Regions from separate parts of the Homo sapiens genome. Here region 1 is linked to region 2. Evidence: promoter capture Hi-C in 16 types of primary human blood cells and fetal thymus (Javierre and others, 2016). All regions are on one chromosome and are shown on one strand. Each heading gives the region's core, a stretch centred on a gene start or on the middle of the fragment in contact. The rest is flanking DNA. Distances are from core to core; before and after follow the strand shown. Region 1 holds the start of ZYX (zyxin). Region 2 holds the start of AGAP3 (ArfGAP with GTPase domain, ankyrin repeat and PH domain 3).

Evidence for each region. The method cuts DNA at HindIII sites, captures the fragments that hold promoters and counts their contacts. A CHiCAGO score of 5 or more calls a contact.
Region 1: the fragment with the promoter of ZYX here is called in contact with the fragment with the promoter of AGAP3 in region 2 in 1 of 17 cell types (M0 macrophages); the score reaches 6.2 in M0 macrophages.

What each region holds. Positions count from the first base shown.
Region 1 is chr7:143,378,640-143,384,200 of GRCh38, forward strand. ZYX (zyxin) reads left to right here and starts at 2,706. Exons shown (of 10, transcript NM_003461.5): 1 at 2,706-2,770; 2 at 2,918-3,140; 3 at 3,609-3,808; 4 at 3,954-4,046; 5 at 4,162-4,683. The coding sequence starts at 2,933. It overlaps FAM131B-AS2 (FAM131B antisense RNA 2), which reads right to left and starts at 2,386. Exons shown (of 2, transcript NR_161353.1): 1 at 1,627-2,386; 2 at 516-1,470. It overlaps MIR6892 (microRNA 6892), which reads left to right and starts at 4,047; the gene lies at 4,047-4,161. It also overlaps a transcript of FAM131B not described here. RefSeq lists enhancers at 1,266-1,345, 1,502-2,402, 1,526-1,615 and silencers at 2,116-3,145, 3,176-3,225. The HindIII fragment of the contact is 8,995 bases long and covers 1-5,561 here.
Region 2 is chr7:151,083,149-151,088,438 of GRCh38, forward strand. It overlaps AGAP3 (ArfGAP with GTPase domain, ankyrin repeat and PH domain 3), which reads left to right and starts at 3,327. Exons shown (of 18, transcript NM_031946.7): 1 at 3,327-3,924. The coding sequence starts at 3,594. It overlaps TMUB1 (transmembrane and ubiquitin like domain containing 1), which reads right to left and starts at 345. Exons shown (of 3, transcript NM_001136044.2): 1 at 286-345. RefSeq lists silencers at 109-498, 3,047-3,296, 3,347-3,436, 3,803-3,872, 4,233-4,502 and an enhancer at 4,723-4,882. The HindIII fragment of the contact is 3,352 bases long and covers 2,086-5,290 here.

The DNA of each region.
Region 1 (5,561 bases), core at 1,456-3,955, 7.7 Mb before region 2:
CTTGGCTCACTGCAACTTCCGCCTCCTGGGTTCAAGCGATTCTTCTCCTGCTTCAGCCTCCCCAGTAGCTGGGACTACACGCTCCCGCCACCTCACCAGGCTAATTTTTGTATTTTTAGTAGAGACTGGGTTTCACCACGTTGGTCAGGCTTGTCTCAAACTTCCGACCTCAAGTGATCTGCCTGCCTTGGCCTCCAAAGTGCTGGGATTACAGGCGTGAGCCACTGCGCCCAGCCCATTGTCTTCATTTTAAGAGCACTGACTCTGCTGCTCCTCTTGAGACATCTTGGGCAGTGATTCTGTTCTTCTGGGATACTCTGGGTGTTTCTACTTGTATTTAGAATGGCTGGCTTAAAAGTCTTTGTTTGAATATTCCGCATTCTGAATGCTCTTAGTTGTCAGTAAAACTATGCCTGCCTACGCACTCTTCTATTTCTGATTTAAAAATAGGTTCAGCTGCCTAACAATTACACATACTCTATTTTGCACGCGCACATTACTTAAGGAGACATTTAGAGGGTAGATAGCTTTTATTCCTATGAGTTATCTTGAAATCATCTTCTTAACTATCTTTTTTTCCCCAAAGGGGCCATATTTTGAAGGATTTGTGATGAGACTTTTGGTCTGTGAAGCCCAAGACACAATCTCCAACATGCACAGGAAATCCAGTATCAAATTTCTAACATGTCTTCAGAGACAGGCCCAGGGCTGGCTTGAGCGTGTCAGAGAGGTGTGCACTGCGTACTACCCATCATACATGGCCACACATGCCTGTGGCTGTGAGAAATACTGGTGGTGACAAAGACAATGAGATGCCAGAGAAAAAGATCAGTGGGGTTTGCAAAAGTGATTAAGATGTCGTCCTAGGTATAATTAAAGACTTAATAAGGTTGAAGGAAAGAGAGGACATTGCACATACCGAGGCCCCTGAGAGATCTGCCTGGCAACCCAGAAAGGGACATATGGGGGAAAACGCCTTAGTGTAACCAGGTCAGAATTTTCATTCTGGGCAGAACTGGAATTTGAATAATAATACTGAGTCATATAGCGCATACAGCTATGACATTTCATTTATTTCTCTATATAATGCAATAAAGTAGATGGATTAACCGTGACGTTTACAGATGGAGCAGGGGAGAATGAAGAGGCGTCAGTTTGGGCATCAGGCTGGATCTTCACACTCTGACCTCACTCTGCTCTATCCTGCCCAGTGTTGCTTCACCTGATATCAGGGGTGCAAGGCAACCAGATCTGACACCAGTTTCAGTTTAGATCCTGCCTTTACCTGGGTGTGACCCGGGTCCATCTCTTCAGCTCGGCCTCTGCTTTCTCTTCATAAACTTTTGGGGTTAGTCCTCGGATGATCTCTAAAACATGGCCCAGGTGCTCCTTGCCAGTAGAGTGTAGCCGGATTTGGAGGGACTGGACACTCAGTGTGAACAAGACGAAGGCCTCAGGAGGCAGTAAAAGCTGACAAGAGGAGAGAAAATGAAGCGCCTACGGGTGCATACTGGACTAGCGGGCGAAAGGCCATGACTCCTTAGTTTGGAGAAAGAACTGGGGCCGAGATTGGGGAAGTTTCCCAGTGCAATTAAAAAAAAAAAAAAAAAGAACTAGAAGAATTACCCAGGTCTGGCTTCTTTCGTGTAGCCTGGGGCTGAGTCGCAGGCTGAGAAATCCAGTCTGGCCAGTAGGGGGCTCCACCAAGCGCAGTCTCAGAATGCCCAAGAGCTCCACCGTCGCCCGGGGTCTCCACCAAGCGCAGTCTCAGAATGCCCAAGAGCCCCACCGTCGCCCGGGGTCTCCAAGAGGAGTGGGTCGTGGTGGGCGTTGAAGGGCCGTAAAAGACGAGCAGCCCGCGTCCGCGTCCGTCCTCCCGGGTCTCCAGTCCGCAGGCGGCCGCCGCCTCGGCCCCGCCCTCCCACCTCCATTCCCGGCCCCGCGGACCCGAACGGTCCCTCTCGCAACCGATCTGCTGGCTGGGGCGCTGGGGATGCGAATTCCTAGAAGCCTTAAGAGGCTGCCCAGCGTTGGAAGTTCGTATCCCCAAGAATGCTGGAGGTTCCGGCTCACACACCCCCTCCGGGCACAGAGTCAGCTGGGGGGTGCTGGGAGGGAGAACGCCCCGCTCCTCACCCCCCATCCCCGTGCACCCTGGAGCCCAGCTCCATACGTTCGGCCACCCCAGGCGGACTCGGGGTGGCCGGGTAGCGGGTGGTGGCAGGAGGGGACCGGGTAACGGCAGGCCCGAGAGGAGGTCGCTGGGCCGGGCCGGAGGCGCACAGGGGCTGCGTGGCTACCTCGGCGGCACCCGCCCCACCTCCGCCGGCTAAGCCCGGAGGGGGACGGTGAGTCAGATCTCGGGCACCCGCGGGTCGGGCGGGGAGGGGGAGGCAGGTCAGGAAATGACATCAGAGGCCTGTGCTCAGGGAGTGGGGGTCTGAGCCGGGCTGGGGCGGCGGGGGCGGCAGTGAGTGGGGTGGGGGCGAGCGGACCTCGGCGGAGCCTCCGGCCTGAGGCAGGATCAGGGCCCCTTCCTGGGGGAGTTTCCTGCCTGGTCCGCCCTTCCCCGCTCTCCCCGCCCCCTCTCCGGGCCGCTCCTTGTATGGTCTGGGCGCCGCTCTCTCCCCGCCCCCTCTCTTCTCCCTCCCTCCTCCTTCCGTGTGTCCCTCCCCGCCCGGCTGGAGGCTGCTCCGGACCGGGACGCAGAGTCTGCGGACCCGGCGCCGAGGCGGCCACCCGAGACGCGGCGCGCACGCTCCGGCCTGCGGTGAGGCGCGGGGAGCGGCAGGGCGGCCCCACGGGGAGGGGGCGCGGGGCGCCGGGAGGGGGCGAGTGGGGGTCACCAAGGGGAGCTGGGACCGCCTGGGGCTCCTGAGCCCGGCTCCGCGCTGCGTAACCCGGCGACCCACCCCAGCAGCCCGGCCCGGCCATGGCGGCCCCCCGCCCGTCTCCCGCGATCTCCGTTTCGGTCTCGGCTCCGGCTTTTTACGCCCCGCAGAAGAAGTTCGGCCCTGTGGTGGCCCCAAAGCCCAAAGTGAATCCCTTCCGGCCCGGGGACAGCGAGCCTCCCCCGGCACCCGGGGCCCAGCGCGCACAGATGGGCCGGGTGGGCGAGATTCCCCCGCCGCCCCCGGAAGGTATGCGGCGGGGCTTGGGGAATGTACCCCGGCAGGAGCCGGGGTGGGGGGCAGTCGTTTCGGGAATTTGGGGATGTCTGGAAAGGTTGTTGCCGAGGGGGCTGGGCGCAGCCACCCTGTCCCGAGCAGATGTTCTTACCTCATCGTGGAGCTCGTGGCTGGGAGCCAGGGCTCCTGGGACCGTTCCAAGTCCCCCGCCTGGGAGTGGGAGTCGGGAATGTGGGGCACGAATCTTCCCCTCCGGGTCCGTTTTCCGAAGTGTAACGGGAGCTGCACCACTCCTCGGCAGTGCGCCCGGCCTTTCCTGACCTGGTACTCCCAGGGCGCCCTGCGCCCCTCCTTTGCTTCCCCACACGCTCTGGGACCCCTGAGAGAGTTCTTGGGTTAGGGGTTAGAGCGGTTAACTGAGGGGAGCTTGGGTGAGGGGTAGAGGGACCCCGGCCGACGTCTTTCTCCTTCCTACCCCAGACTTTCCCCTGCCTCCACCTCCCCTTGCTGGGGATGGCGACGATGCAGAGGGTGCTCTGGGAGGTGCCTTCCCGCCGCCCCCTCCCCCGATCGAGGAATCATTTCCCCCTGCGCCTCTGGAGGAGGAGATCTTCCCTTCCCCGCCGCCTCCTCCGGAGGAGGAGGGAGGGCCTGAGGCCCCCATACCGCCCCCACCACAGGTACGGAGGCCTGGGAGGGGCGGCTGCACTGGACACCCCCAAGGAGAGGAGAAGAGGGCCCTTTCTTCTTACCTCCCCTGCACCTCTGCCTTGGGGGTGGGGGGATAGAGGCATGGAATAGGTGCTCTGACCTCTGACCCTCTAGCCCAGGGAGAAGGTGAGCAGTATTGATTTGGAGATCGACTCTCTGTCCTCACTGCTGGATGACATGACCAAGAATGATCCTTTCAAAGCCCGGGTAAGGGACCGGAGAGTAGGAAAAGCAGGGCTCAGGGCCAGAGAGACTGGGCATAGAACTAAGGAGGATGGTGTCCTCCTGACTGCATCTCTCTTCCCTCTCCCACCCCTTGCAGGTGTCATCTGGATATGTGCCCCCACCAGTGGCCACTCCATTCAGTTCCAAGTCCAGTACCAAGCCTGCAGCCGGGGGCACAGCACCCCTGCCTCCTTGGAAGTCCCCTTCCAGCTCCCAGCCTCTGCCCCAGGTTCCGGCTCCGGCTCAGAGCCAGACACAGTTCCATGTTCAGCCCCAGCCCCAGCCCAAGCCTCAGGTCCAACTCCATGTCCAGTCCCAGACCCAGCCTGTGTCTTTGGCTAACACCCAGCCCCGAGGGCCCCCAGCCTCATCTCCGGCTCCAGCCCCTAAGTTTTCTCCAGTGACTCCTAAGTTTACTCCTGTGGCTTCCAAGTTCAGTCCTGGAGCCCCAGGTGGATCTGGGTCACAACCAAATCAAAAATTGGGGCACCCCGAAGCTCTTTCTGCTGGCACAGGCTCCCCTCAACCTCCCAGCTTCACCTATGCCCAGCAGAGGGAGAAGCCCCGAGTGCAGGAGAAGCAGCACCCCGTGCCCCCACCGGCTCAGAACCAAAACCAGGTGAGGGATGGTGATAGGACAAGGCTTGGTACCAGGGCACTGGGGCGGGGCTGGGTCAGGAGCCAGAGCATAAGCATAAGGTGATTGGAGAGTCAGGGTGGACACGGGGGTTGCGGGGTGGCGGGATAGGAATTTTCATCCTCTGGGGTTAGCCTGGTGGAACAATGGTAGGAAAATGCTCCTCTGGAGGAGAGGCCTGGCTGGGTGTGGGGCTGGGTGGGGCCTGGCTGGGACGGCGCAGAGAGCATGGGCTCTGAATTAGGAGGATCTGGTGGACCTTTCCTTGTGCCTTTACCCCAGAAAGTTAAAGGGAGGGATGAGATCACCAGTTCCACCTTGGTTTTTCCCATTCTTGGGTCTTGAGTTAATCTCCCTGCTCCTCTGAGCACTCTTTCTGCCTGAGGGCTTGGAGGTAAGAGACAGCCCCAGTAAACACTGGTTGAGCCAGCATCCACCACGTGCCAGGCACTGTGCTCTGTGCCCAGGAGGGTAGGACATGGGAGGGAAGAGATCTCTGCAAGAAGCTCAGCCTTCAGGTGTCAGATGGACCTGGAATGGAATTCTTGGCTCAGCTTCTCCCAAGTCCTTAGACTGGGCAAGTTAGGTGAACCCTGAGCCTCAGTTTCTCAATCTTTAACATTCTCTACTCCATACAGTGGTTGTGAAGATTGGGTGAGCTAATACCTAGAGAGTGTTGGGTTCTGTATCTAGTACAGGAATGCTCAAAATAGAAAAGCTGTAATTACAAAATGGTTCTTGCCTTCTAGTTCAGGAAATAAGATCGTCCAATTTCTGGTGACGAAGATGACCCTGATGGTCATCTAGTCCAAGCATCCAGAGTCCACTGATAGTGTTGATGTCTACCTACACTCGGACAC
Region 2 (5,290 bases), core at 2,077-4,576:
TGGAGCCACCGAGCGTCACCACCCACCCAGCTCGGCCCCCTCCAGGTCCCCTCAACCCCACTCCGCGGAGGACTAACTCCGCGCCTCCTCTGGAAGTCTCTCCAAGCCCCCCGGGCTGCCTGACCCCAGATCCCGCCCGGAATCCGAGACTTCACGTTCCCCACCCCCACCTCTCATCACCCCTCCCACCTTCCCGCCCCCCGAAGCCGCAGGAGGGCACGGCGATCCCGGCCCGACCGGGGCCCTGGGCGGCGGGGTGGGCGCGGTCACGGCGCGGGGACTCACCGCCCGGCTCCCCCAGCTCCATCGCGGCCCCTCGGGCACTTCCGGGCGGGAGGCGCGGAGGTCGCAGGCACCTGAAGCACCCCTCCTTCCCCGCCGCCGCGGCCCGGGGCATTGTGGAACTTGTAGTCCGGCGCCGCGCTGTCCCCGCCCTCCGCCCTGCGGACCCACGTGTGGGGCTCCACCCGCGGTTCTCTGCGCCTGCAGATCGCGAAGGGGCTGGCGGGGGCGGTTTTGGGGGTTGTGCTACCCCCTAGAGGTTTGGGCGGCAGCAGCGTCCGCCCCCTCCCCTGCCAACAGCCAGGGCATCTATCACACCAGACACCGACGTCAGCTGGAGCACGTCAGAGTACCCGTGTTCGTGATGCAGTGTGGAAGGCTCTGAGGAACTCAGGTGGCCCCTACTGTTATGTCAGAGTGGACGCCAGAAGGCACTTTGGCCACCAAAATTAATTCTTCAGCCCAGAGCCCAATATCCATGGGCTGCCCCACCAGGCTGGCTAGGGATACCCATCCTCAGGGCTGCCCCTTTCCTTGGTCCCCTCCTCCACCTTCGGGACTCCACAGCCCCTTCAGGGCTGTGGAAGAAGCATAGACCTTGGAACCTGGCAGAAATCCTGATCCCTTATCTTGTGCTTCTCAGCTATATGACCTTGGGTGGGTTATTGAATCTCTCTGAACATTAATTTCTTCCTCTCTAAAACACACCTCGTAAGTCAATCATAAGGAAGAAATTAGATGTTTTATTAAAAAGTGTAAAAACTAAGGTACATGTCACACAGTAGCTATTCGCTCACCTCCACCCAAACCTGGTCTCAGGAGTCGGGTCTTTGGTGTGTTACTGTGTGGATGGCATTGAATCCCAGGCCTGTGGATATCTGGATTTTTCCCTCTGGGCTCCTGTAGCCACAGAGATCTCACATCCTGGTTTTTACAGGCCAGTCTTGATTTAAAATAATCTATCCTAGTCTTCCCATGGTTCTTGCCTACTGTGGGAGCAAGTGGCCCAAATATTGCCTTAGGAATGTCAGTCTAGATTGATACCATACAGAACTAACCTACCTCTAGTTCCATCCCTCCTGTTCATTCATTTATTCTACTAACATATTTTTTAAAAGATGTACTATGGCCAGGCGCAGTGGCTCACGCCTGTAATCCTGGCACTTTGGGAGCCAAGGCAGGCGGATCACTGAGTTCGAGACCAGCCTGGCCAACATGGTAAAACCCTGTCTCTACAAAAAAAAATACAAAAATTAGCTGGGCGTGGTGGCGGGCGCCTGTAATCCCAGCTACTCGGGAGGCTGAGGCAGGAGAATCATTTGAATGCGGGAGGTGGAGGTTGCAGTGAGCTGAGATCGAGTCACTGCACTCCAGCCTGGGTGACAGAGTGAGACTCCGTCTCAAAAAAAATTACACACACACACACACACACACACACACACACACACACACACACTATATCCCAGGCATTGTGCAAGATACTGGGAATAAAATGGTGAATCAGACCCTCTTCCTGCCCTCATGTGGCTCCATATACTAGTAGAAGAGCTAGACGTGTGAACAGCCCAACAGTGCTATAACACGTGTGTGCTAGTTGCTGGGGCAACACATTTGAGGAGCTCTTTGCTCTTAGTGTCTCTCTTGGGAGGTATACCTGGTGCTACTTCCTGCTGTCAATTCTAATTAAGCACCTAAAAGAGATGTTGGATGTTACTTTTAGAATTATACAACATCAGAACTAGGTTTTATGTTCAACCACTATATTTCGCAGATGAAACCCAGAGAGGGCACAAGATATCCTTAAGCTTATGCAGGGAGATAGAAACACAGGTTCCTCAGGAGCTTAGGAGACCCTGTGTGTTGATTAGCTTGCACCAGGTGCTTTGGAAGGTACAAGGAACTCGGGAATAGTGACTGGGTTGGTTCTGGGGCTGAGTTGTGTGGGTAATCAAACAGTGGACAGCTTCATGCTGGGAAAAGATCCAGCTTGGCCAGGGAAGTGGAAGTGTGCGTAAGAAGGACGATGTGTGTCACTGATGCCCTAGGATATCTGGGGGTAGCAGATACCCTGCAACATCTCTGGCAGATTTATTGGCTGCGGCCTCTGCAAATGTCACCTCTTGTAGGTTTTAGGAAACGTGTGTGTGTTGGTGGGGGGGAGGGGGCTAACAGAACTGCAGCCCACTTTGGCAATGGGACTGCAGAGGAACTGGGACATTTCAGGGAGCTCCCTGGCCCTAGAGGGAGTGAAAGGACAGGATGGACAAGGGGTGAGGACAAGAAAAATTGAGAGCCACGTGGGCTTTGGTTGGTCTCTCCAATGGGATGAGTAGGGGAGAAAGGCATATACTATTTCATCCCTCCCTCTTCTTCCTCTATGTACCAATGGGGTCGGGTAGCATTTAGCTAATCTCCCAAGTCCGGCAGGGGGAGGGTCTTTTAGGAGAGCACTGCTGCAGCCGGCAGTGGAGAGCCTGGGCAGGGAGACAGGGAGAAAACTCCGGCAGCAGGGTGGTCTCTAGGGCTGACCTCGGAGCCTGGGGACAGGGGAGCCTATGCCGCACTGAAGGCGGGACGCTGTAAGCGAGGAGCAGCTGGGCCTGGGCGGACTCCTCGGCCAATCAGCCTCGGTCAGCAGCACCCTCAGGCGCAGGGCACTGTTTGGGCATTGCCTAGAGATCCGACACCCCGCCCAGATCAGCGCAGGGAGGCGAAAGCGACAGCCGGGCGCGGGAGGAGACCAGGGCAGCTGTCCCCTCCGCGAGGGTGGCCCTCGAGGCAATGCGGGTGGGGGCTGGTGAGGAGGCGGAAGGGCCGAGGCTGAGTGGGAGGGGCCGGGGCGCCAGGGCTGGAGCGCGCGGCTCGGGGGTGGAGGCTGCAGAGCCAGCGAGCGAGCGAGGGGCGGGGGCGCCCGGGCCGGCGCGCAGGAGGGGCGGGGGCGGCGGGGAGGGGGGCTCGGGCTGCGTGTGCCGGAGCCGGCGGGGGCGGCGGTGCGTGCGCATGACGCGGGGGGAGGGCCTGGGCCGCGCGCTCCCGGTCCCGTTGTTGTTGCCGCTGGAGGCTGCTCCGAGGCAGCGGGATCACGGCGCTGGGAAGCGCTCGGCAGCGGCGGCCACAGCGTGCGCGGCGGCGCCTCCTGGCCTCGGCCTCCGGCCCCCGGCCCCCGGCTCCATGCGCTAGCCCCGCGCCGCCAGCCCAGTAGTCCCGGCCCCGCCAGCCCCGCGCTCCCGCTCGCCGCTGCCGCCGCCGCCGCCGCCGCCGCCTCCGCCGCGCCGCCCCGGGCCCGCCTCGGGCCCCACGGCTCCGAAGCCATGAACTTCCAGGCGGGCGGGGGGCAGAGCCCGCAGCAGCAGCAGAGCCTGGCGGCTCCGGGGGGCGGCGGCGCTGCCGCGCAGCAGCTCGTCTGCGGCGGGCAGTTCGGCGGCGCGGGGCCCGGGGCCGGGGGCGGCGGCGGCCCCTCGCAGCAGCTGGCCGGCGGGCCCCCCCAGCAGTTCGCGCTCTCCAACTCCGCGGCCATCCGGGCCGAGATCCAGCGCTTCGAGTCCGTGCATCCCAATATCTACGCCATCTACGACCTGATCGAGCGCATCGAGGATTTGGCGCTGCAGAACCAGATCCGGGAGCACGTCATCTCCATCGAGGGTGAGCGGAGCCGGGGGCTGCGGGAGCCGGGGCGCAGTGGCCTCTCCGGCGCCGGCCGAGGGCTCCACAGGCCGTGCCTGGCCATGCTCTCCCTGTCGGGGGTCCTTGCGCGCTTGAGGACCAGGCCACGAGGTTTGCCGATCTGTGTTGCAGAACCGGCGGGCAGCTTCGCCATATCTCGTTCGGGGACACTTTGGGGTTGGGGGTTTTCTGCTGACTGTGTTCCAGGGCGCGAAGGTGGTGTCGCTTGGGGGGGCCGGGACCAGATCTGTCCAGGCCTGGCCGGGGAAGGTGGGCGCGGCAGAGGGCTTCAGCTGCGGGGAGGTGGGGTCGTGACCGGGGAGGCTTCTTAGCCGCTGCCCGGGCCCTGCTCCGCAGTGGGGCGGGGGATCGGAGCCTCGCGTTAGTGGATGGCAGCCTTCCCGGGCCCAGCGCCCGCAGGCCCGGAGGGTGGCGCTCGCCGCGGCGCCCTCTCCCGACGCACACCCCCTACGCCGCGGCGGCCAAGCGGGAGCGGGCCGGGCCTGGCGCTGGGCTGAGGCTCAGCGACCGCGTGGGAGGCGCCGGCAGGTCCATCCGCGCTTTGGCCGGGTCATGAGCCTGACGGGGATCCGCGGCTCCTCGGTCTGGAGGCAGCTGCTGGGCAGCCGGGTGCTGACCGACCGCCAGGGACACCGCACCCGGAGTCGGGGACCGGAAACCCCCGGCCACTGCGCTGCCTAGCGCTTTTTTCTCTGGGCCCTTAGGCCCTGGACTTTCGACCGCTGAGGGCACAGGAAGTGGTGGCACGCTGCTGGCAGATGCCTCGCAAGCCCTGGTGTGGTGGGTGCTGGAGGCACCCGCAGGCACCCCGGTGGCATGGTGACCTTCGAGCGGGCACGGACAGATGGGCCTCACCCTGGGCCATCTGCTTCCTCCCCCAGCTCTGTTTGAAAGGGGACGCCCACCGGCAGGTGGTGGGTTTGGCCTCAGTGGAAATGCAGTGAGAGCCAAGGCCTTTTGCGATAACATGGAGTTATGGGCAGGGGCCTGTCCCTGACTTGGGCCTTAAGGTTAGGGCCCCACTCCCAGCTTCATCTGCTTGCCTGAGGTTCTGGGGGATAGTGCACCTGAACACCTCCCTTTCTGCTTTCAGAGGTCCCCATAGCCGGGGAAGAAGTACTGGGTCTGGGGGGACCCCATGTGGTGCTGGGTTCTATCTTTTGTTGTGACATGCCAGTCTGACTTCCTTCTGCCTTTTCCCAACCCGTTCTTATTTCTTTCCTCTCAAGGCTGAGTTCTCTGTGAACTAATTAGGTGACAGAAAAAACTCATTAACGTGGATCTGAGTAAATGGCCTGAATCACCGCTGTGGCTGGGGACTAGG